2 separate regions of the Homo sapiens genome follow, and region 2 is linked to region 1. The links are contacts of gene promoters, found by promoter capture Hi-C in blood cells and fetal thymus (Javierre and others, 2016). All regions are on one chromosome and are shown on one strand. Each heading gives the region's core, a stretch centred on a gene start or on the middle of the fragment in contact. The rest is flanking DNA. Distances are from core to core; before and after follow the strand shown. Region 1 holds the start of PIWIL1 (piwi like RNA-mediated gene silencing 1). Region 2 has its middle 31 kb from the start of LINC02419.

What was found. The method cuts DNA at HindIII sites, captures the fragments that hold promoters and counts their contacts. A CHiCAGO score of 5 or more calls a contact.
Region 2: a fragment that was not itself captured here is called in contact with the fragment with the promoter of PIWIL1 in region 1 in 1 of 17 cell types (naive CD4 T cells); the score reaches 7.4 in naive CD4 T cells.

The regions. Positions count from the first base shown.
Region 1 is chr12:130,335,538-130,341,718 of GRCh38, reverse strand. It overlaps PIWIL1 (piwi like RNA-mediated gene silencing 1), which reads right to left and starts at 3,832. Exons shown (of 21, transcript NM_004764.5): 1 at 3,573-3,832. LOC101927786 (a long non-coding RNA gene) reads left to right here and starts at 5,479. Exons shown (of 3, transcript XR_242978.5): 1 at 5,479-6,181. The HindIII fragment of the contact is 10,112 bases long and covers 1-6,181 here.
Region 2 is chr12:130,099,558-130,105,738 of GRCh38, reverse strand. No RefSeq gene overlaps it. Among named protein-coding and RNA genes, the nearest start is that of LINC02419, 31 kb to the right of the region's middle. The HindIII fragment of the contact is 3,205 bases long and covers 1,141-4,345 here.

The sequences.
Region 1 (6,181 bases), core at 2,583-5,082:
ACAACATGAGAAAACAACATAGCGTGTGACTCTTTGTCGAATGGTTGGAATAACCTACTGCACAAGTCAATGGTGAAGATCAAATGAGAACTCACACTGGCCTCTAGTGAGCAGTCAACAAACATTAGCCCTAATGGAAAGGGCAGGTAAAATTATAACTACACGTGTTAATACACGTTATTTACACACAGCTTTAAAAGCAACTTGAAGTCAGCTTCTTAGAATACTACACGAAGGCAGGATGCTAGTAGTGTTATCTTTTTCATATGAAGTAGTTAGATCTTAGGATAAATCCAAAATATCTTTGGTAGAATTCTCTAACACTTGTTGCACCTTGTTATCCACCTCTAACAAGATTTAAGCTGAAACAGAGAATTAGGAATTGGAAGGTAGGGTGGTACCAGTCTTTCACACAAACGGTAACAACCCACACATAAGTGCTTGAACTGGATGCAGAACCAAAAGACGTCCAGTGGGACTGGAAAGAGAAGGGGCAAGGGGAGTGGAGGATTTCATGTGGGCAGGGAGCAGACTGCTCAGGGTCCTGCAGACAGCTTGGATACTCAACACATGAGAAACCATCCAAGGTTCTACATAGGGGCAGGCGATGACATCATCTACCATCACTCTGCCTTAAATCACATTATCTTTTTCATCCTCTGAGTTTTAACAGCTTCTAAAATTCTTGGCTTCATGATCTTCACAGAAAGATAAATCTAATGCCATTTTTCAATTTTAAAAACCTCCGACTTCCTATTGTATTTTACAGGATTAAAGCAAATATTCATTGTATAAGACCCCTTACAATATGACTCTAAATCAGCAATTTCCAAAGGAGTTTACACAGGATAATCCGCTGAGGTGCCAGCATATTACAACTAATTTTAAATCTCATTTTAAACTGCTTTGTATTTATTTTATAATGTGCGCATCATGACAATGATTACGTATGCATGCTCGGCTTACACACGGGGCATACTGGCGCATGAAAGTCTCTTACTGATAATCTACAGGCAGCGTCCCCAGCAGCAGCAGCAGCACCACCACCACCACCACCAACCCCCCTCCCCCCACCCCCCCTCCCCCAACCACCACCACCAACCCCCACGCCCCATGGACCTGTACCGGAACCAGGCCACACAGCAGGAAGTGAGCCGCAGTGAGTGAGCAGGACAGCCTGAGCTCACCTCCTGTTAGATCAGTGGAGGCATTAGATTCTCCTAGGAGTGAGAACCCTACTGTGAAGTCGGCGTGCCAAGGGTCTGGGCTGCCTGCTCCTTATGAGAATCTAATGCCTGATAATCCGAGGTGGAACCGTTTCATCCCGAAACCATCCCTCACCGGTCCGTGGAAAAATTGTCTTCCAGGAAATCGGTCCCTGGTGCCAAAAAGACTGGGGACTGCTGATCTACAAATCAATCTGAAAGCATCCGCTTGAGACTCCAGCAAACACAACTTGCTTCCTATCACTATCAATTCCGTGACTCACCCTACACCGTGGCACACCCTCTGCTAACAAAGCCTCACCCTCCTCTGAAACCACAAGAATCCAGTGAACCGCTTAAGGACCAGCTCGCAGGCCATCCCTTGCTCCCTTCTCCGAAAGCCGTTTCCCCGGCGTGACCACGGTCACCCTACTACATGGTAACCTGTTTTCTCCCTCCCCACATCTCTGCACTCCATAGCTTCTCCAACTAGGCTGCGAATCACAATTGATGCCTTTGCACCCAGTCCGTCGCTTGACACCTTACAAACAACGGTGTGAAACAGTGATTAAAAAACAGTGACAAGCTGAACTCTCATCTCCAGCAGGAAATATTCCTAAAGCAGCACGTCAGTTCTCAAAGCCTGGTCCCTGACGGGCAGCATCTGGACTGGCTGGGAACAGAAATTACGGGGTGGGGAGCGGCTCTCAGCCCTCCCGAGTTAGAAGCCGACTGGAAGCAGCCCTCCAGCTGATTCTCATCATCTCCAGGGCCTGAAACCCACGGCGGCGCGCTGTGCTGGTCACTAAATACCTGGGGGGCTCAGCGCTCTACGTCCAGGTTTCCCAGCACAACTCTGGTTTTCAGCTTTATCTCCTTCCAGTTTCAAAACCACCTCAGTCTGGATATTGAATTCTTAAAGTCAGAAAGCAAGTGTGTGCTTCCAATAACCACACTCGCTGGAAATCACCTCTCCGATTCGCTACCAGCTCTGCCAAAGACGCTTCCACCTAACGTCCCTCCGGCGCTGAGCTCAGGACCACGCCGTGCACGTGGGAACCACCACCGCGCCACACGCCTAAAAACCGTTGAGCGGTACATTCTATGCGAGCGGGGTCTCTCTGGCCACAACTTAAAAACGAAAAGAAAAGCGCTCAGAGAACAGGCTGCGCAGGGGTGCAGCCGGCTTTGCCCTGGAGGCCGCCGGGGCTGAAGACGGCGAGAGCATCCATCCCAGGACGCCACCGCCCCGCCGCCCCTTTCCCTCCACAGGTGCCAAGGGCCGGGCCGCCAGCACCCGCGAGGACCCCCGGGCCTCGCAGAGCCCGGCCGTCGCGGTCGCCGCCTCACTTGGGGTCCTCCGGAGTTCCGTCCTCTTCCCAACGTCCGGCTCCCAAGGCTCCCGGGGGCGCAGCGCAGCGGCGGCGGACGCGGGAAGGGGCCCTCGCCCTCCGCAGAGATCGCGCCCCGCGGCCGCGTGGGTAGTGCGGGAGGTCCCGAAGGCCCTCCTGCAGAGCTCTCAGGTCCCCGCAGTCTCACGCACGGCCGCCAATGCGGAGACCTCCGCCCCCGCACCCCCGGCAACTCAGGCCTCAGCCTCTCACCCCGGCCCCTGCACCTGGGACCTCGCCCCCGCACCCCGGCCCCTGCACCCCCGCACCCCGGCCCTACAGCCCCGGCAAGTCGGGCCTCAGCGCTTCCCCCCGGCCCCGCACCCCCCACACCTGATACATCGCCCCCGCACCCCGGCCCCTGCACCCCAGGCTCCTGCATCTCCCAAACCTGGGACCTCGCCCCCGCACCCGGCTCCTGCATCCCCCGCACCTGGGACCTCGCCCCCGCACCCGGCTCCTGCATCTCCCACACCTGGGACCTCGCCCCCGCACCCGGCTCCTGCATCCCCCGCACCTGGGACCTCGCCCCCGCACCCGGCTCCTGCATCTCCCACACCTGGGACCTCGCCCCCGCACCCGGCTTCTGCATCTCCCGCACCTGGGACCTCGCCCCCGCACCCGGCTCCTGCATCTCCCACACCTGGGACCTCGCCCCCGCACCCGGCTCCTGCATCTCCCGCACCTGGGACCTCGCCCCCGCACCCGGCTCCTGCATCCCTTGCACCTGGGACCTCGCCCCCGCACCCGGCTCCTGCATCTCCCACACCTGGGACCTCGCCCCCGCACCCGGCTCCTGCATCTCCCGCACCTGGGACCTCGACCCCGCACCCGGCTCCTGCATCCCCCGCACCTGGGACCTCGCCCCCGCAACCCGGTCCCCGCACCTCGAGCCTCACCTCCACATCCCGGACCCCCAGCCGCCGCCCCCGCATCCCGGCCCCCGCACACCTAGCACCTCAGCCTGGCCCCGCACCTTGGACCGCTGCCCTCGCCCTAGTCCTGGTCCTTGCACCTCAGCCCGAGGCCAACAGCCCCAACGGCTCCCGCGGAGATCCCTCCGCGCCGCCGACCTCCCAGGACCTCCTTCGGCCCGCGCCCACCTCGCCTTCGGCGCTGGGTTCCCGAGAGAGCCAGGGACACGCGGGCAGCGAGCAACAGGCGCTCTTTTCCCGGGCGGATGAACACCGCCTCCCGGGCGCCGGCCTCGTGTCTGTACGCCATACGCCCAGTAACGGCGGAAAGCGGCGCGCGCCACGCCCTCATTGGCTGCCCCGCAAACGGCGGTTTCTGATGTGGCCGGGGCGGGACCAGAGGAGCCCCGCCCCACAGGCCCCGGCCCCGCCCCTCCAAGACCCCGTCTGGCCCCTCCCGGACACCCGGCACAGGCCCAACAAGCCAGGCCCGCCCCGCCCCACAGGCCCTGCCCCTGGCCCCCCAAGACACCGCCTGGCCCCGGACAGACACCCCGCACATGCCCTGGCCCCTCCCCATAGGCCCCGCCCCCATCCCGCCAAGACCCCGCCTGGCCCTGCCTAGACGCCACGCCCAGGCCCCCACAGGCCCCGCCCCCGCCCCACAGGCTCCGCCCCTGTCCCCCCAAGACCCCGCCTGGCCCCGCCCAGACACCCAACACGTGCCCTGCCCCCTCCCCACAGGCCCCGGCCAGCCCCACCCAGGCCCCGCCCTGTTCCTCTTCTGCTTCGCCCAGACCCCCGGCCTTCCCTGGCTTGACTCCTGCAGTTCCCCCAGTGCCAGCCCCCTGCAGGCGGACACGGGGTCGGGCCAGTTCCCTACTAGCTCGTGGAACTGGGCGGCGGCGCACGAAGTAGACCCTCCATAGACTTCGAAATGGTGCCCACGTGGGCACCGAGCGCCCTACTGTAGCAGTGGACTCGATCTTGGTCTGGCCTTTAACGTCGGAAGCTCTTTCACTCAGCACACAGAGATTTGAACTTTGACCCCAAAGAAAATAAAACTGCAATGCAAGTCTAAGGTGCCAGGAGGCCGTTACCTGGAAATTTAGCTTTCAATGACTTGTGCCTTGGGTGCATGCCAACGTGGACCGCAGGGGTTCTCAGCCTTCACCTGCGGGGGATCACCTGCAGGGCTGGTTAGGACACAGACCAGAGATTCCGGTCTGCAGGCTCCACAGGTGGGCCCCGCCGGCTGCATTTCCAAGGCATCGCAGGTGGTAGCGACCGGGTCTACGCCGAGCTAGGTGCCCTCCATAGGAGTTAATTTCCTCATGGAGGCAAAGTCAACAGCCACAAAACAACCGGAAATATTGTAAGATAGAACAGGTTTATTTGTCAAGGTGGAAGTGGGACTGAGGCTCACTAACTGCCTGACCTGTTATGTTCCATAACTATAAACATGATTGTAGGAGGTAGTAGAAATAGGGTCGCCTCTGCAGACAGGTTTTAAAACTGCATTTATACGGTAAACATAGTGCTTTTCCTTTTTTTTTTTTGTGAGACGGAGTCTCACTCTGTCGCCCAGGCTGGAGTGCAGTGGCAGGATCTTGGCTCACTGCAACCTCCGTCTCCCAGCCTCCTGAGTAGCTGCGACTACAGGCACCCACCACCATGCCCACATAATTTTGTGTTCTTTGTTTTGTTTTGAGACAGGGTCTGGCTCTGTCAGGCTGGAGTGCAATGGTGGGATCATGGCTCCCTGCAGCCTCGACCTCCTGGGCTCAGGTGATCCTCCTGCCTCAGCCTCCCCTGTAGCTGGTACTACAGGTGTGTGCCACCTGTAGTAATTTTTTTGTATTTCTTGTAGAAATACGAGAAATACACCCAGCTAATTTTTTTGTATTTCTTGTAGAAAGAGGGTTTCATCATGTTGCCCAGGCCGGTCTCAAACTTCTGGGCTCAAGTGATCCACCCATCTTGGCCTCCCAATGTGCAGGGATTACAGGCATAAGCCACAGAGCCCGGCCTACATATTGCTTATTATTCATACTTAAAAGCGCATGCCTGGGAATCGGGGGCTGGAGAGGGCTGAAGGCTCCCCAAGCCACCTTCCCAAATCCTACGTCTCATCTGTGCCATGAAAGGGGCAGGTTAGATGTCAGCGTTTCCCACACTAGCCTGAGTGTAAGCATCCACTGAGGGAACTTCCAAATAATACAGACTCCCAGATCACGCTGATTCCAGGAGGTCTGGGACGGGTGCAAGGAATTTCAAGAAGTAACATCAAGTTATTCTTATGCTCAGAGAAGGCTAATAAATTTGGGGCGAGGCCAAAAGGCGTTGGAAGCCAGTAGTTTGAAAGAAAAATAGCTTTCCAAAGGCTTTCGCTTTGTAAAAACTAAATGGTGCCTTTTGGAATACAATGTGAACATAACTTTTCCAAGGATTTAAGGTGTTGATGAGAAAGACATTCTGAGACCTGCCAGCAGATGGAGCCATAAAACAAGAAATAGATGTTTACAGCCTCAACTCGGGAGAAAAATACCGTGAATGCACCTTACACTATAGAAGTAACACTTTTCCCTCTGCTTTATTTTCTCTATATGCTAAACTCCTTACTTGCCTCTGCTAAAGAACATCGCTGGAGTGTCTTGGTGTGTGAAGTATG
Region 2 (6,181 bases), core at 1,494-3,993, 230 kb after region 1:
CACAACTCTTGGGCTACTCAAAAATAGCATTCTTATTTACTCATGAAATGCCGCTGTGGTATCTGGAAGCTGCTTCAGACTTCCCCGTGGGGTTCATGGAAGGAGTAGGCATAGAGACCACAGAGGCCGGCCTCAGTTTGAGGATCGCTGCAGCAGTGTAATAAATCCACCAGGAGCCATCGTATTTTCTCTCCGTTGGTATACATTTCAAATTTCCCCTAATAAAGGGCTTTGATAAATGTTCCTGATTAAGATACAGAGATGATTAAATGTACCTCGATTCCTTCATGTATTTTATAAAAGCATTTCCGCAGCAGCTGAAAATTTAAAGCACCCATGTTAAACAGAGTTGAAAGCAACTTTTACATGCAACAGGTCCCGCCCTCCCTCATTTGTAGAATACTCCCCCTGTTTCATCTCCTAAAGACAAAATCCATCAAAAACCCTCCTGACAGCCTCCAGATGCCTTGAATTGGCTGTAAAATATTTCAAGGTCTCAGAGTAATTTAATGCCCTATGAAAGTAAAATAAATTGTGTACAAATAATTCAATAAGCTCAGGGAAGTGGGGAAAAAAACATTAAGCATGTCACAGATGGCACCTCCAGGCAGTTTATCAAAGCAAGTTTCATAATTTAACAAAATCATCTTGGCATCACACACAAAGGCCTTCCTGTTTGATCCCTTAATAACACTGCTTAGCACTTTCTGGGGAACTGGCTTCCAGTGCCGGAGCTGTTTCCAAGCATTAGCTAATCAATCATCAAAAGATATTTTTCACGCAGGCAGGCAGAACTCGGAATCCTCACTCGACCACCACGGAAGTGGCCAAGGAAGCTAAGAGGCTTTCCCAAGGTCACCAGTGGGGCAAAGGTCCCGGCTGGGGTCCCAGCTAATGAGTTTCTGGTTTCTTCTGTGCCCCTGACAACGCCTCCTCCTGCCTGGCTCAACCACGTGGCCAGCACCCAGGCGTCCTGAGAGTGCTGGTCGGAGCTCCGGCTTTGAGCTTAGGGCTGAAATGGCCCTTCATCCGGGATAGCAACGTGCTTCTCACAACAGGGTTTCCGAGTCATTTTCCTCTCCCCTGCCCTGGATCTCAAAGGGGACTGGGTTTATTTTCTTTCCCGGAGAACGGAAAGCTTTGCTTTTGGCTAAGGGCCAGGGAATCCGACCCCTGAGTTTTGTCCAGCGACTTACATTTGTTTCTAGTTGTTTGTTTGTTTGGGGAACTATATGTTTAAATTATGGAATAATACGTGCATAGGTTGAAAGGGAAACCTCGCAGAAGGGTTTAAATGTAAAAGAAGAATGACAAATAAAATGAGTGGATGTTCCCGGGGGAGGAGGAGCTTAACTAACCCTTCCTACGCCCCCTCCCCCAGCACTTAGGGACTCACTTCTGCACAGCTCAGGGAAAGGGAAAAGTGGAGACACCTGGCAGATGCCACCTGGTCGCCAAGGTTTACACCTCGTGACTGCCCCATATGATGTGAAGACAAGGGCACGTTGCTTCCGGCGTTCTTCCCTCAAACCCAGTCTAATTGTGACGAAAAGCACCTGACAAACCCCACCTGAAGGATGTTCTATAACATGCCTGACAAACTTGAAAAACAAAGACTGAGAAGTGGCCACAGTCAGGAGGACCCGAAGGAGCCAGGATGACCCTCTGCAGCATGAGCTCCCGACGGGACCCTGGAACAGGAACAGGAGCCTAAGGGGGAACTGGGGACGTTGGAATGAGGTCTGAGGTTCAGACAGTAGTGAGTGCCAAGGCTGGTGTCTCAGCTTTGACAAATGGACATGGGAAGATGAGAGGATAACATTTGGGGAAATAAAACTGGCTAAAGGGTACACGGGAGTTCTCGGTATTAACTTTTTAACAAATTTAAACTAATAAACTTTATTTTTAAGAGTGGTTTTATAGGTTTACAGCCTCGGTACTATCTTTACAATTTTTCTGTAAATCTAAAACTATTGCAAATACATTTGTTTTAAATTTAAAGGTGAAAATTTTCCCCCACCCCTTCCCCTGCCCTATTTGACAGAGATAACTACTGGAACGATTTCTAGAATATTCTTCCAGAATTCTGTGATGCATATACACATCCTTTTTTCTTTTTAAAACCAAGATTAAGGCCGGGCATGGTGGCTCACACCTATAATCCCAGCACTTTGGGAGGCCGAGGTGGGCAGATCACGAGGTCAGGAGTTCGAAACCAGCCTGACCAACGTGGTGAAACCCCGTCTCTACTAAAAATACAAAAATTAGCCAGGCGTGGTGGCGCACACCTGTGATCCCAGCAACTTGGGAGGCTGAGGCAGGAGAATCACTTGGGAGGCTTAGGTTGCAGTGAGCCGAGATCGCATCACTGCACTCCAGCCTGGGTGACAGCGCAAGACTCCATCTCAAAAAACAAACAAACAAACAAACAAACAAGATTGAATCCTCCACTGTATGTTTTTGGTTTCTTGCCTTCTTCATTGAATCTATATCTGGGAGGTACTTTTGTGGAGAATATAGTTGTACTTCATTCTTTCTAAGTGATTTGAGGTCATCTATGGTTACTATGTTCCCATAATTTATTTAAACAGATCCTGATGGGTAGATCAGGCTGGCTTTGTTTACTTGTTGTTATAACAAAACAACGAATCAGGTGTATCACAGAAGTCAATAAACACAAGAAATTTCTTCACTCAAAATCAGCTTCACTCAACATTTTAAAAGTCTAGATAAAGAGGATACCAGGTGTGGTGGCTCATGCCTGTAATCCCAGCACTTTGGGAGGCCAAGGCAGGCAAATCACCTGAGGTCAGGAGTTCGAGACCAGCCTGGCCAACATAGTGAAACCCCATCTCTACTAAAAATACAAAAAAAATCAGCCAGGCGTGGTGGTGGGCGCCTGTGATCCCAACTGCTTGGGAGGCTGAGGCAGGAGAATCGCTTGAACCCAGGAGGCAGAGGTTGCAGTGAGCCGAGGTCGCGTCACTGCACTCCAGCCTGGGCGACAGAGGGAGACTCCGCCTCAAAGAGCAAAAATAAAAAGATGATACTGACAAACCATTTTTGATCTCTCGGATTGGTAAAGATTGAGAAGTTTGATTGTCACCAGTCTGGTGAAGACGTGGAGAAACAAACTCTCATTCCCACTGTTTGAAGGAGGGTCAATGGGTGAAAATGCTTTGGGAGTGATTTTGACAACATGCATACCTATTTAGAAGGTGCTTGGCCGGTGACCTTCTCTTTTTGAGAGTGGTGTTGGGTACGTAGGTGTGTTTACTTTGAGATTAATCTTTGGATGACACATTCATGACTTATAACTTCTCTGTATGTTATACTTTAACCAAAAGTTAAGAATAAAGGTGTCTAGATTTGAGCAGGCCCCCTGGCCTTCCTTTTTGAGAAATACATGGAAATAAAAGACTGGTGGTCTCCAGACATGGTCCTCTCCCTGGCTGAATTATATTCCTGGTACCCATATAAATTCTATTATGTATATATATAAATATTCTTCCAAAAATCTGTGACTCAATCTAATAATTTCTTAATACGATGTGATACTTATTAGGTTAAAAAAAATACCAAATCATACCTTTACCTAAATTTCCACAAGTAGGCTCACCATTATTAAATGGCATAACAATTGAGATTCTTTTTCTTCCTTCTCATTTGCAAAGACTTAAAAAAATTCCTAGAACTTAGAGAATTACAGATTAGGTTGGGAAAAAGAGAAACGTGATGTAAGTTAATGGAGTTATTGTACCCACCTGTTAACCGAACTTTTCTACGAGAAAACACAAGGTAAAATCAAAGGTGCCACAAGTTCTAAAACCAAACTAAAGATCTGGAAGAAGCCGGCACAGACCTCTGCAAGGGGCTTTCAGTGCGTGACCTGCTGCTAAGATGAGCAATTTGCCGCTTTAAGAACAAGAAGCAAATGACCCGTTTTCCCTCTAGGTACAACCTGGAGGTCATGCCTGGGAATTGCGGGAAAACATTTAGAGAGGCTCTCTGCTCCCCTAGGGGGTATCAGCAGGGCTGGATTGAAAATTGATACCCACGTGTATTTTTGTAAAACGCCTAGGCATTCCCTAGGACTGAATTGGTGGTCCTCAGTCCCAAAGTCCTAGCACTCAAGTGGAGAAAAAGACATTGACCTCCTCCCTGGAGGCGTTTCTCCCCTCCTCCCACCGCAGAAGCAAGCCCAACCTTTATTTGGCTGCTCTTTGATAAAGCAAAGTCTCCTCTGATTTCCCCATATTTTTCCAGCTTCTGCGTGTCACGCAAGCCTTTTACATTATTAATAAAAGTTTCAAATTCAGTTACTTTGCTCTTGAATATGAAAGCTTCTCTTTGGGGGACTTTGAAACACACTAGATGCAAACTTTCCATGAAGACACTTAGAGATAAAGCGTGATGATCATCCTCCTTTGAACGTCTGGAGATTTTAGAAAGCAAGACCGCCCATGGAATCCGGAACTGTATTTGCACTAAAAGAAAAGGCAGAGAGGACTCACGGAGCTCTCCATTTTCATGTGGCATAATTAAAAGTTTACTTTCTTCAGGCTGTTGCCATGGGAGCAGCATTTGGTTGCATGTCTAAAGATCATAAAGGCCGGTGGGGATAGATGGAGGCAGTTGAAAATGATTTGGGAAGGTGTTTTTAAGAATGTGTGGTTTGAGAGGGGCAGACTGGAGGTAGGGAGGAAGAGAACAGATGAATGCATCCAAATGGTTCCTTTGACTTGAATTATTTTTGCCTAGAGGCAAATTTTTAAAAGATCTTCATGTTCCGAGTAGAATTCTAGCCAGAGGTTGATGGCTCTGATTGCTCCTAAATGGAATTATTCTCATAGTCAACATTTCCTTAGAAAATGGACTTTGCTTCTTTGTCTATTGCAACAGCAGTGCCCAGACACAAATAGTTTTGAGGAAAGAGCTAGTTTATTATTCAGGCTGGCAAGATAGATTCCTGGGGAGCAAGGCTCAGTGAATAATCCAAAAGCAACATAGTCTAGGCTTAGCCTAGTTCCTGCCTTTTCTAGGAAATCTTTCTGAAGTGCTTCGGTTTGCACTGATGTCTTTATTTACCAAATGCCATAAGGACAGCTTCTACTTTGTCCTCTGGGCTGGGCTGAGGTCTCATCAGGCTGCTCTGGGACTTCAGATTTTGATGTTGTCTTTTAACGGTGCAGCTCTGGGAGTCGACATATCTCATCAGTCCTTTCTGGCCCTTAAGGCAAAGCTCCACAGACTACCTGGCTTAGGAGCCACAGACATTTATTCCTCACGGGTCTGGGGGATGAAAGTCTGAGATCAGGGAGCTGGCTAGGCTGGATTCTAGTGAGAGCTGTCTTCTGGGTTCTGGACTGTCAATTTCTCCTTGTGTCCTCACGTGGTGGAAGGGGCGAGGCAGCTCTCTGGGGTCCGTTTTATAAGGGCACTTGATTGCTTCATAGGCCTCCACCCTCATGAGATAATCACCTTCCCCAAACCCCCACCTCCTAGCACCTTCCCATTGGAGGTTAGAGTTTCACCATATGAATTTTGGAGGACACACACATTGCGTCTGGTTTGAATTCTGGTTCTATCACAACGAACTGAAAAGCCTGACCAAGACCACCTGTGGCTCAGCTTCCTTGGAGGCATAAGATCAGCTGCATTTCAGAGGCCCCAGTGAGGATGGCAGGAGAAAGTGGACTCAGTGCTTGGCTCAGGGCAGGCACACGGTAGGTGCTCAGGAATTAGGAATTCTCCTTCTCGTCAGCAGGTCCTTCCTGGTTCCCACTGCCTCTCACCCCCACAAGGCTCAGCACTCATGGACTGATGGCTGGGGACCTCCAGCTTCCTGTTTATTGGGAGGGAGTGATTATTAACTCCAGAGAGTGGGTGAACTCTGCACTGGTCACTCTGAATACATTGTCTCACTTAATTCCCACTACCCACTGGGAACACTTAATTCCCACTACCCACCAGGAACACTTAATTCCCACTACCCACCAGGAACACTTAATACAGGGAGGCAGGCTCAGGAATGTGCACGCCCTATCAGAGGCCACAGAGCCAGATGGCAGAAGAACCTCCAGCTGCAAGTGAGATGGTCCCATCCTGTGCCAGAAAGCCCCAGACCTCCTTCAGTCGAGTACCTTCAGGAGGGTCTTGGCCAATTCCAGTTGCAAAAAAA